Regions from separate parts of the Homo sapiens genome. Here regions 1 and 2 are each linked to region 3. The links are contacts of gene promoters, found by promoter capture Hi-C in blood cells and fetal thymus (Javierre and others, 2016). All regions are on one chromosome and are shown on one strand. The core of a region is centred on a gene start or on the middle of the fragment in contact, and the rest is flanking DNA. Distances in the headings are between cores, read along the strand shown.

Evidence for each region. Contacts are between HindIII fragments. The CHiCAGO score rates a contact against its expected background, and 5 or more counts as called.
Region 1: a contact is called between a fragment that was not itself captured here and the fragment with the promoter of DIAPH3-AS1 in region 3, in 1 of 17 cell types (M1 macrophages). The highest score is 5.7, in M1 macrophages.
Region 2: a contact is called between a fragment that was not itself captured here and the fragment with the promoter of DIAPH3-AS1 in region 3, in 1 of 17 cell types (erythroblasts). The highest score is 6.5, in erythroblasts.

What each region holds. Positions count from the first base shown.
Region 1 is chr13:60,424,965-60,429,303 of GRCh38, reverse strand. The region is part of intron 1 of TDRD3 (tudor domain containing 3); the gene reads right to left. LOC124903178 (a long non-coding RNA gene) reads left to right here. Exons shown (of 3, transcript XR_007063814.1): 3 at 332-418. Among named protein-coding and RNA genes, the nearest start is that of TDRD3, 30 kb to the right of the region's middle. The HindIII fragment of the contact is 1,924 bases long and covers 723-2,646 here.
Region 2 is chr13:60,328,278-60,332,264 of GRCh38, reverse strand. LOC105370228 (a long non-coding RNA gene) reads right to left here and starts at 3,840. Exons shown (of 3, transcript XR_942002.3): 1 at 3,697-3,840. RefSeq lists a silencer at 2,497-2,566. The HindIII fragment of the contact is 6,341 bases long and covers 1-3,987 here.
Region 3 is chr13:60,011,233-60,015,396 of GRCh38, reverse strand. It overlaps DIAPH3-AS1 (DIAPH3 antisense RNA 1), which reads right to left and starts at 2,679. Exons shown (of 5, transcript NR_109838.1): 1 at 2,539-2,679. The region is part of intron 7 of DIAPH3 (diaphanous related formin 3); the gene reads left to right. The HindIII fragment of the contact is 1,896 bases long and covers 899-2,794 here.

The DNA of each region.
Region 1 (4,339 bases), core at 435-2,934, 410 kb before region 3:
GTATATGCAATCATATGTCTTACAATCTAATAGCATAACGATTCCCTGTACATTAAAATGAAGTAAAAAATGAAAGAGGCATATAAAAAGCACAATATTACAATTAAAAAGGGCAGCCATTTAAATGTGTCACTAAACAGGTAAATACTAAACAATAAATTTTTTGTCAAAAGAGTGAAATAGTCCCATATATATGTCAGCTGATAAATATGAATTAGTAATTCTCATTTCCATTTCTTTAAAATGCATCTTAAATACAAAGTGCTTAGTGTTGCTTACATTTTTGAAATAGAAATGCTGCAAATAAATTAGATATTTTTTTCTATTGAAGGAGACCAGGAAATTTCACCCCAAAATATGGCACCCTGGTATGCTGATTATTTTAAATTAAAGGCCCTTGGAGACTGGCAGATACTAGAAGAAGCTTTACTCTGATACTCCCTTATCTGCTTAAACTCCAGACTCTTCAAAGAAGAAAATTACCACTGGTCCTTTCCTTGAGTTTTCATTAACTCATACTGCAGGAATAAAGACTGAAGTCTGTCAACACACCTGGACAGAACCACTGTCTTCTCTGTGGGCCCACAAGGCTTTGTCTCAGGATGCACGAGGACGTATGTCTCAAGACGTATGTTCTCCAAGCCCATTGAATTCCCCTAAAAATCACTTTTCACCTTAAAATTATCCACATCTCCCTTTCCTCTGTGAAGAGTATATAAGCTTCTGTACCCCCACTGCACTATTGTATAAACAATCATTCTCTTGTAATTCCCTTGTGCTATGCACGATAAAATTAATTTTGCATGCCTCTGCTATTAATCGGCCTTTCTTCAGCTGATCTTCAGCAAACCTTCAGAGGCAGAAGGGAAAATTTTCCCTTGGCCCCTATATTAACTTAGAAAACATAATTTGACTACATCCCCCATACCTCTTCATAGTAGCCTGAATGGTGGCCCACAAAAAGATATGCTTATGTCCTAATGCCTGGGAATCTGTGAATGTTACTTTATTTAGAGACAGTCTTTACAGAAGTAATTAAATTAAGAACTTTGAAATAAGAAAATCATACTAGATAATCCAGGCAGGTCCTAAATCCAATGACAAGTGTTTTTATAGGAGAGAGGCAGAGGGAGTTTAAAAATAAACACACAGAGTAAAGTGACACACAGAAAAGTAAAAGGCCATATGAAGCTGGAGGCAGAAACTGGACTGATGATGCCTCAAGCCAAGGAATGTCAGCAACCACAGAAGCTGTAAGGGGTAAGTTACTGATTCTCCCCTAAAGCCTCTGCAGGGAGAACAGCTCCAAAGACATTTTGATTTCAGACTTCTGATCTCCAGAACTGTTAAGTGAATAAATTTCAATTGTTTTAAGCCACCCAGCTTGTGGTAATTTGCTACCGCAGCCACAGGAAATAAATATACCCATTACAAATTCCAGTAATTACTTGAGAAGTATTGATTTAATTAAATAAAAAACATTATTTTGAAAGGCCATCCATCCCTTAGCTTAGAATCTAGAAGGACATTTTCTATTCAACTTAAAATGCCTTGATTCATTATCTCTTCCTGAATGAATACTTTCAGTGAACCTTATTGGTTAGCTTAAGTCTATAAATAAGAAAATACAAATTACACAGAGTGTCAGTGGCCCTTCTTATTATACAGAAAAGGATAGTGGGTAAACCAGGAGCACTGAACAGTGTGGAGAGATCAGTCAAAGGAAAGACGTAGAGAGGGGATCACCAAACTCTGTCTACCTACACCTGACTGACCTCCAAATGACACGTGCGAAGCCGACTCCAAACATCCCAGCTGAAGACAAAAGATTTGAAAAGAGGATGGAGCTGCTGCATTAGAAACGAAACTGCAGTTCAAACCCAGCCTCCCCACAAAAAAAAAGTACCTTTAATAACACAGGAAACAATATTCATCAGTGTAAAACAGAACAAAAATCTTTACAATTTAACACTATTAATATGCACTACAAAATCCAAAATTACCCAACATACAAAGAACGAAAAAATGGAACACATTCTGAAGAAAAAACAAAATCAATCAAATCTGTCTGATGCCAAGATGAACCTGATGCTGAAAATAATAAAGATTTAAAGTGGATATTACAGCTATTTGCTCTTAAGAAAAAAAAGTTTTCAATACAGTCACACTCCACATAACATTTTGGTCAATGACAGATACATATATGACTGTGGTCCTCTAAGATTAAAATACTGTATTTTTACTGTATCTTTTCTATGTTTACATATTTTTTAATATACAAATATGTTTAAATACATAAATACGTACACAATACTAAATTGTGTTACAATTGCCCACAGTATTCAGTACGATAACATGCTGTACAGGTTGGTAGCCTAGGAGCAACAGGCTATGCCATATAGCCTATGCGCGTAGTCGGCAATACCATTAAGGTTTGTGTAAGAACACTCTGTGACGTTCCCACAGTGACAAAGTTGCTTGAGAACACATTTCTAGAACATACCCCATAAAGTGATGAATGACAGTATATGGTATGTGAAGGTTTTATAGAATTCCTCTGTGAAACCATTTGTCCCTTGGTGCTTTTATGGAGTAATCTCTCCTTAATTTTCTCTATTTCTTCTATAACATTGGTCTGCTTAAGCTTTCTAACTCTAATGGGGGCAACTTTGGTCATCTGTACTTTCCTAGAAAACTACCCATTTCATATAGGTTTTTAGAATTATTTGCAAAGTGTCTCATGACATTTAAAAAAATTTTTATTGTGTATATTCAAGGTTTACAACATGATGTTACAGGATACATATAGATAGTAAAATAGTTACCATAGTGAAGCTTATTAACATATCTATCATCTCACAGTTACTTTTTGTGTGTGACAAGGGCAGCTAATATCTACTTATTTAATAAAAATCTCTAATTTTAATAACTTTAGTCCTCATGTTGTACATCTCTCAACTTGTTCATCCTACAGATCTATTTTTTGTCCTTGGACCCACATCTCCCCATTTCCTCTGCCCTCCCCACTGCCTGTGGTAACCACTGTTTCATTCTCTATTTCTATATTTGAGCTCTTTTTTGGTTTATAATATTGCACATATAAGTAAGATCACATAATACTTTTCTTTCTGTGTCTGGCTTTTTTCACTTAGCATAACATCCTATAGGTCCATTCATGGGTGAGAAACGGCAGGATCTCCTTCTTTTTAAAGGCTCAATTATATCCCATTGTAAATACAAGTCACCCTTGAACTCGGGTGTTAGCAGCACCAACCCCTGCACAGTTGAAAATCTGAGTATAAATTCTGACTCCCTAAAAACTTAACTACTAATAGCCCACTGCTGACCAGAAGCCTTACCAATAACATAGTCAATTAATACATATTTTGTATATGTATAATGTACTATATTCCTACAATAAAAAGAAAATGTTACAAAAACCATATGGAAAACATATTTACTGTTCATTATGTGGAAAGAGACCATCATTAAGGTCTTCATCCTCATTGTCTTCATGTTGAGTAGGCTGAGGAGGAGGAAGAAGAGGAGGGGTTGGTCTTGCTGTCTCAGTGGTGGCATGGTAGAAATCAAAGAAAATCCACGTATAAGTGAACTCACACAGTTCAAATCCGTACTGTTCAAGATCAACTGTATATACCACATTTTCTTTATTCATTTTTCCATCGATGGACATTAGATTGTTTCCATAGCTTGGCTACTGTGACTACTGCTGCAATAAACTTGGAAGTGCAAATATCTTTATGAGGTAGTGATTTCATCTTCTTTGGATATATACTCAGAATAGGGATTGCTAGGTCATACTGTAGTTCTATTTTTAATTTCTTTAGGAGTTTCCATACTGTTTTCCACAAGGGCTGTACCCATCTACATTCCCATCAACGGTGTACTAGGGTGTTTCTCCACACCCCTGCCAACATTTGTTATCTTGTATCTTTTTTGATAATAGCCATCCTTATAGGTGTGAGGTGATACATCATAGTGGTTTCAATTTGCATGTCCCTGATCATTCGTGATCTTGAGCACCTTTTCATACACCTCTTAGACATTTTTATGTCTTCTTTGGGGAAAAGTTTATTCAGATCGTTTGCCCATTTTTTAATCAAATTATTTTTAATGTATTCTGTTTCAAAGATGACTTCTCTTTGTTATTTCTTATTTTACATAGTTATGCATTTTTTCCTTGAATAAGTTAGCTAATGGTTTGTCTATTTTGTTAACTTTTTCAAAAACACCAAGACTGTTCATCCGATAAATGAATATAAACAAAATGTGTTATTTCCACACATTGTAATATTATTGTCATAAAAATAAGTGAAGG
Region 2 (3,987 bases), core at 32-2,531, 320 kb before region 3:
CCAATCTCTGTCCAATTATAGCCAATGCAATCTACAAAATACAATGTTCCCTAATGAATCAATCATATTAAAGTCAGCTCAAGTTATGAAAACTCATGTTGTAGCAGAGAAGCCTGCACTCCTGAGACCTCTGCACACTTTTTGTTCCCCTGTACATTGGCAAATCTTTCAACTTGTTCTCAGTTCTGAGCTCTGAGTACAAACCCTTTCCACCTCTTACCCACCCACCTAGAAATCGAACCTCAGATTCATATTGTGTAGAATACATTAGGTCAGAAGTCTAAAGAAATCAGTATTTAAGCCCATTTGAAAGTCAGTGAGAAATTTGAGAAGAGAAGCATTACTTCCCTCCTGGAGACAGAGCACTCTCAAAATTATAAATAAATAAGAGGCAGGAAAGAGTGAAATGTTTCCTGCTGAACTCTCTCCTTCCACCCCTCCTCCTCAGGCATAATGGGACCAGGCAAGTAAGGAAACCAGGGAGAACCTTAGAAACTGTGTGTTCTCTTGTTTTCTCTTTTGGGTGTGGTGAAAATCTTCAAATAGGAAATCAGTTCTATTCTTTTATAACACAACGTTTTCTGATAAAGAAAAATATTCTCTCCTATTAGAAGATATAATGAGAAAAATGTGATCAGTAAAGACAGTTAGTAACAAAGTGATGAGGTAAGAAACGGGCTTACTTTAGTGGACAGGGCTTTTTGGAGGCAGCAGACAGGGCCTTGTTGAGATTGAGCTGCCCTGTAGCATCACAGGCAGAAAACGCAGAGGAGATCCTCTGTAAATGCAGAGAGGAAATGCAGCAAGGTGTCAGACTGCACCTGAGGCTTAGGAGGCAGCCTGCAGAGGACTGACAATGGACAAATCAGCAGCCCAGAGAAGGAGCAGCCCGTTGGTGCTGTGCTCCACAGATAAGATGGGTGTCCAGGGGAAAATATGCAGGAGAGCAAAACTGCAGAAAAAAAGAAAATTATGCTCATATCAGGACATTCATACACAGGACAGCAAGGACTAAATCCAAAGATTTATATCTTCCTTCCTTCCTTCCCTCCCTCCTTTCCTTTCTATTTTTTTTTTTTTTTTTGAGACGGAGTCTTGCTCTGTCGCCCAGGCTGGAGTGCAGTGGTGCGATCTTGGCTCACTGCAACCTCAGACTCCCAGGTTCAAGCGATTCCCCTGTCTCAGCCTCCCAAGTGGTTGGGATTACAGGCACGTGCCACCAGGCCCGGCTAATTTTTGTATTTTTAGTAGAGATGGGGTTTCACCATGTTGGCCAGGCTGGTCTTGAACTCCTGACCTCAAGTGATCCGCCTGCCTCAGCCTCCCAAAGTGCTGGGATTACAGGCGTGAGCCACTGCGCCTGGCCAAAGATTTATATATTCATCCATCCATTCCTTCATTCAAGGAGTCTTTAGGAAGCTATAATTCCATGCCTGGCAATGTGCAAGGTGCTGCCCCAAAGTGAGCATAATAAAATCCCCTTTGGAGTTTGGCGAGGAAGACTCACAAATAAACAGACACAAAACAATGTGATCAAGTGATACAGAAGAATACAGGATGCTGGGGAAAGAATGGAGTTTTCCTGGGGTTATAGAGAAGGCTGGAACATACTTCACAGACTGTTTCTTTCAAGGGCGAATAGAAAAGCCAAGATGTAAATGTATAGGTCCAGATGCTGACGTGTAGGAACTGCAATTCATTTACAATGGTCAGAACCTCAGTTGTCTATGGGAGAAGGTGGGGAGAAGGCTAGAGAATAGGCCCATGAAAGGCCTGCCATGTAAGAAGTCTTGGCTTCATGTTGTAAGAAATTCAGAGAAAGAGCTTCTAAACTTGGAAAATCCTGTGGTCTAAATGTTTCCATACCCTGAGAATTCATTTGTTGAAACCTAATCCCCAATGCAACAAAATTAAAATGTGCAGCCTGTAGGAGGTGATTTTTCAAGAGGGATTCACCCTCATGAGTGGGATTAGTGCCCTTAAAAAAGAGGCCTAAGAGAGCTCGTTTCCCCCTTCTACCATGTGAGGACACATAGAAGGCACCACCTCTGAGGAATGGGTACTCACGAGACACCAAATCAGCTGGCACCTTGATCTTGAACTTCTCATTCTCCAGAACTGTGAGCAATACATTTTTATTGTTTATAAATTACCCAGTCTAAGGTATTTTGTTATAGCAGCCCAAATAGACTAAGACAGAAAACATGGCCAACATTTATTAATGATGCCCAACACTCATTTCCAACTTCCTTCTTCCTTGCTCATCTCTCCCTCTCTAGAAGCTGGAAAAAAACAAAACAAAACAAAAAACAACAAAACAAAACAAAACCCATATATTTACTTTCCTGGTCTCCCTTGTAGCTTGCATGACCATGGACCCAGTTCTGGCCAACGTGACCTGAGAGGTCTCATGGGCAGGCTTCTAGGAAAGGTTTCTCTCTCCCTGATAAACAGGAACAGGCCTGTGGGAGGAGCTCTCTCACCACTCTGGCCTCACTCTTGCTTCTTGTCTTTAAATTTTGAGGCCCGAGAATGTGGTGCCTGGTGCTGCAGGGATGTCCAAGATAATCACAAAGACATCAAGCAAGTACCCTAAAATCTGGAGCTGCTGATCTAATCCTCAAATCATATGCCTCCAGGCTTTTGTTACATAAACAGTAAGAATTCTTATGGCTTAGGTCAATATCAGCTGGAGTTTTCTATTACATGCTGCCCAAAACATTTCTAAGAGAGTTAATAATTTGTAAGTAGTTACTAAGAATTACTACAATGTGGTATTCATAAATTAAATTAAACTTATTTTGGAATTTACTAGGGACTCTAAATTAACATTCTACTGGCTTTTAAACAAATTTGCAAACTGCTCACTATTTATACATTGCAGATACTTGAAATTCTTTCTGCTTTTTGAAAGTACCCTTTATCATCAGTGTATCAACAGTATTATGTTGGGTTAGTCATAATTTTCTTCACTACTAGTCTTACTCTTTAATTATATAGGACTGTTCACTTCATCATTATTAATCTAGTTTATTTTGCATTCTTTGGTTAAACTTATAGTGTAGGCTTATTTTCATTTGATCTATAAATTTCCAAATAATAGACTTTACTTCATGTATACATTGTGGTTCCAAATAGAGCTCAACAATGTTGCTACTGATAAAGGAGTAACTCTCAACAAAAAGTTATTTGTCCACGTTTCGTTGGTGTTAGGCTACCAGCGGATTTGTGATTTTTTTTTTTTTAACTTACAATGCTATCACGGTGTCATATTATTACTGGATTATTTTTAAGATTATCTATGAAATCATGCTTATATGTTACGAACAATTCATGTGTATTATGAAATGCAAATGTTTCCTAGTTTCCTCTTTTCCCCTTTCAGGGAAGCATTCTCCAATCTATAAGGGTTGCCAGGTTTGGTCTTACATTTCTTTGGAATACTCCTCTAAGACTGCCAAACAGCACTGCTAATCACCTCGTGGAACTGTGACCCACGGTCCACTCAAGAAGCTGATGCCGTCTTCCCTGAGGGCACCATGTTCCTTTGGTCTCTTTAAACAAGCACATCACACACAGCTAAATGTAGATTGCTCTAGTAGAGCACTAGCAGAGTAAAGGATAAGTTTCTAGCTAACATAAATTTTTTATTTTGTTATCAAAAGGAAAGACACCTTTTGATAACAAAATACCTACCTTCACAAAGAGGTCAGTCTTCCTTCATAGCTGCCTTTCCTGCACACAGAGGAAGTCAGGTCTCCTTACTCAGTTCTCTCCCTGTGGAACTCTCTTCTTCTGGGAGCATTACACTTCTTTACACAGTAAGAGACCCCATTTTCTGGGTTTTTTTTTCCATCATACAATACCCCAAATATAAAACTTCTGTCAGGTGGTAGGGGTCAGGTTCTATTTTCATGTGTAAAAATTGATATAGATTTTCTATTCTGAGTTTCTGTTCCTGTGGTTTCTTCATCTGTAACAAGATAA
Region 3 (4,164 bases), core at 1,430-3,929:
AGGTCTCAGAAATAGAGCAATGAGGCTTAACCCAAGTAATATTGAGAATAAACGTAATATGGAGGAATTTGCATAGTTAAAGAGGTTACATTAGAAGGGAGAAACCTGCTTGTGGCTCTCACCTATAATCTTACCGCTTTGGGATGCCGAGGCAGGAGGGATTGCTTGAGGCTAGGAGTTTGAGACCAGCCTGGGCAACATAGTGAGACGCCATCTCTACAAAAAGTAAAACAAATAGCTGGGCATGGCGGCACATGCCTGCAGTCCCAGCTACTCAGGAGGCTGAGATGAAAGGGTGGCTTGAGCCCAGGAGTTTGAGGTTATAGTGAACTGTGATCGAATCACTGCACTCCAGCCTGGGAGACAAAGTGAATCCCTGTCCTTAAACAAAACAAAACAAAACAAAACAAAACAAAACAAAACAAAAAAACTAGAAAAAAAGAGGAATTCTTAAGCTCTTTACTGAAGTTAGATTTTAGGTTTATCTAGCAATGTTTCTTTTTTGCTTTTATACTGTTAACTGTAGAAATTAGCATTATCCTATGCTGTTTCTTTAAGCTCCAGCATCTAAACACATTTACCTCATGATGTGTGAAGTGATGATAGGTGTTTAAGTTGCTGTTAGACAGCAGGGGGGGAAATTTTACCTGTGGTGGTACGATTATTTTTGTTTTATAGCAAAAGCATCTGTATATTTCTGATTAATTTTAATTATAATATTTTGCCTTATTCTAATTTAAAAACAAACTTTTATAGGGCTACACACTTAAGTACTAGTACGTAAATTATTGATTTATTTTATATTTATTTTACTACATGTATTAGCAAATATTTATATTTTCTAATTATTTTTGTCTTGTTAAACTGTGTATTTTTAAGCATTTTCTGGAGCTAAGCTTTCTATTTTTAACCAATGAAATATTTTTTCTTCCTTGCCTCCTCTAAACAGATATTATTTTCAAAGAAAATATGTGATGTAGGAATCACAACTCCTTTCTATGCTGAATTCACGGTTCTTTGAAAATCAGATATTAGATATATAAGGTAGCTTTTTACATATCTGTTTTAAGAGTAAATGAATGAAAGAATCAAATTGCTGATAGGGAGAGGTCTTTGCCCACTAAGTACATAGAACTGGTTTAGGAAGCCCTTTTTAAAGTGAGAATATAGAAATTGGAAATTTCATTGGTGATGGAAAAGCCAAAAGTAGAAAAAATCTAGGAACTTTTTTTAAACCAAAGGGACATTTGGATCATAATTTGAATTTAAGAAGAATATCATGGTTAAATTAAGGTGGTAAATAGAAGATAATATTCTTACTTTGTTTCATAATGAATCTGAGGAAGATTGAACTTTATTTTCTAATTAATATACTATTTTTCTCTTAAGAGATTTTTGTTGCTTGTAGTTTATATACATGGAGCTATAAAATATTGCCATTTTATTTGGTGCTTTTATCTGTGTTATTAAGAATAAAAAGTTAATTTAAGTTATTGTTACTTAGTATTATAGTGTCTGAACTCTAAACCTAGCAATATGTGAAATTTTTGGTGAAGTTTTTTTTCCCTTCAAGATTGGTTAATGGTTGTCTTAATCTTTATTTGATCACATCTATAAGTACAAAATTTGTTAAACCTCACTTATACAGTCTTTATTAGCATTCATTGAATGGTGAAAATATAAGTTTTAAGAGGAAAAAAATGTGGTACCTTATTTGGTACTAGTAATTAATTATACAATTAATGGGCAAATTTGATAACATTACATGAAAGTGAATTTCTTATAACATTAAATTGGACTAAGAGTATTTTTTAAATGGAAGAGAATTTTAATTGCGTAGGGGAAAGAAAAGATAATAAGGATGAAAAGTTAGTATATTCAAATTGAAAGGTAATTAGAACAGAGACTTCAGTTTGGTCAGTTAACTGTGTGTGTTGCTTTGAAGAGTGCACCCAAGGTGCGGGTGCTTTGCTTCTGAAGCCAGCAACTTTAACCACATTATTTCTGCTACTGGGATTAACTCACTGTGGGTGGCTGCTCAGCACTAGTAGTCATGCTGTGTGCGTCCAGATGTTGGGCGTCCTACACGAGGATTTAGAGCATTAACTTTCCTCTACCTAAAACATCATCTTCAGTGCCTGAAATTCCATCTATTAGCTAATAATAGGCCTCATGTGGAATGCAGGCGGAACCTGGCATTGATCCTCAGTTTAGAACAGGCCAGTTACCATATTGTCCGGAGTGGGTCCTTGACATTCAGGAAAGATACATCCTTAGACCTTTCAAAATTTGTCATGCCTCTCTAACCTAAAACAGCCCTCATTAAATGCACTTTAATCCGAGCACTGGTAAGTTGACAACTTCTCACACAGAGTCAACAGTTTTTGTTTTGTTTTGCTATGTTTTTTAAATAATTGAGAGTAATTTATACAAGTAGCAATTCTGTATTTATAGATACTGAGTAGTAGTAATTGGCCTCATTCCAGTCTTAAAATGAGTGTGACACATTTTTGCATTACCAAAATCAGAGAACGTTACCTGTGATGGACTTTTGGGGTCACAGGATGATGGTTAAAACTGTGAAATCAGAGTATGCTCCTATTTCACCTTTCATACATGATAGGTTAGGGCCAGAGGGTTTGGCAGAGAAGGCAGGTAGTATCACTTGGAGGAAGTCAGCATGAGTCACCTTGGGTGGCTGGAGGAGTCACAGGATTCTGATTCTAGAAGGGCAGGTGTTAGCTAAGGACAACCAGGTAGGTGGGAAAAGAAGGGGAAATGCTAGAGGCAAGCTTTACTCAATTCCCAGATTTATTAGGACAGAGCCAGCTCTTGTGTACTTGGTAATCATTGACTGACTTTCTGAATTGAATCTAAGTGGTACTTTATAAACCTGACAATTCCCTGGAATGATTAGCAAGGCATATTGTAGTTTCTGGTCCTGTGCCTGCCTTTTCATTCTTTTTCCAGTTAGGTAATAGCCCAGGCTATCATAAAAGTAAGTATTTCCTGACTGTTTAGCTGTCTTGTTGTAAACTTTTCCCTATTACTAACAAGACAGAGTAATCTCTCCAAAATTCATATTCTTGGGCCCTTGGCCTTTCCTCATACTTTCTCCATTGTTCCTGTGTTTCTCAGATAGTGGTTTAAAGTAAATGGAGTATTTCAGCCCAGTACAAGGTTTCTTTGCATAAATGGCCATATACAAGATAGGAAAGTTATAAATAGGATTTTATCACAATCAAAGTACTTGGGTCTAAGCTGGTTATAGATTCAACTTCAATGCTTACATGTAGTGCTGATTTTGAGTTTAGTTCATAGGCTTGTAATTGGGAATAAGGCCCTTTTTTAGTGTTTGGTAGTAACTCTGATTAGTCAGTTCTCATGCTTTAGTAGGATCCTCTGAGATGCATGCTAGATAAATAGTACTGTTTTATTGTTTCTATTCATCTTCTGTATTTTGACAGTTATCTTTCATAGATACATCATTAACATAACTTATCTTCTAATTGGATTTGACTTCCTGGCAGTAGTAAATAAACTTTATCCTAATCCCAATCGTCTCATTTATAGAATGAGTTTACAACTGCATTGTTTTCCTTATAATAAATACCATTGTGATTAGAATACCTGTGCCCATTGTGGCAGTTTCTACATGGTATCTGCTCAAATCATCCTTCAGTTTTTGCTTATTTATGAACTAAGTGCTAATATCTAGGCCTGTATTTTGTAATATGGTAGCTACATGTGGCTTCTGAGCATTTGAAGTGTGGCTAGTCTGAATTGAGATGTGCTACAGTATAAAATACACACTGGATTTCAACTATTTAGGAAGAAAAAGAAGTGAAATGTCATCAATAAATGTTTTATATTGGTTATATGTTGAAATGGTAATATTTGGGGTATATTGGATTAATTTTATTGAAAATAGTTTTGCTTGCTTGAAATTTTTAAATTACTCATGTGGTTTACATTATATTTCTCTTGGACAGTGTTGATCTGTGTGTTTGCTTATGATAATATATCTCTTACCAACCTTCCTTCCCAGGAAAAAGATTTTCATGGCCTCAGTGTCTGGTTCCGTATCTGGCTGTTTGTTTCATATGCTTCTGTTGGCAAATCCCATGTTTCTGACTGCTTCCCACTTTCTCAATTTGGCTACTT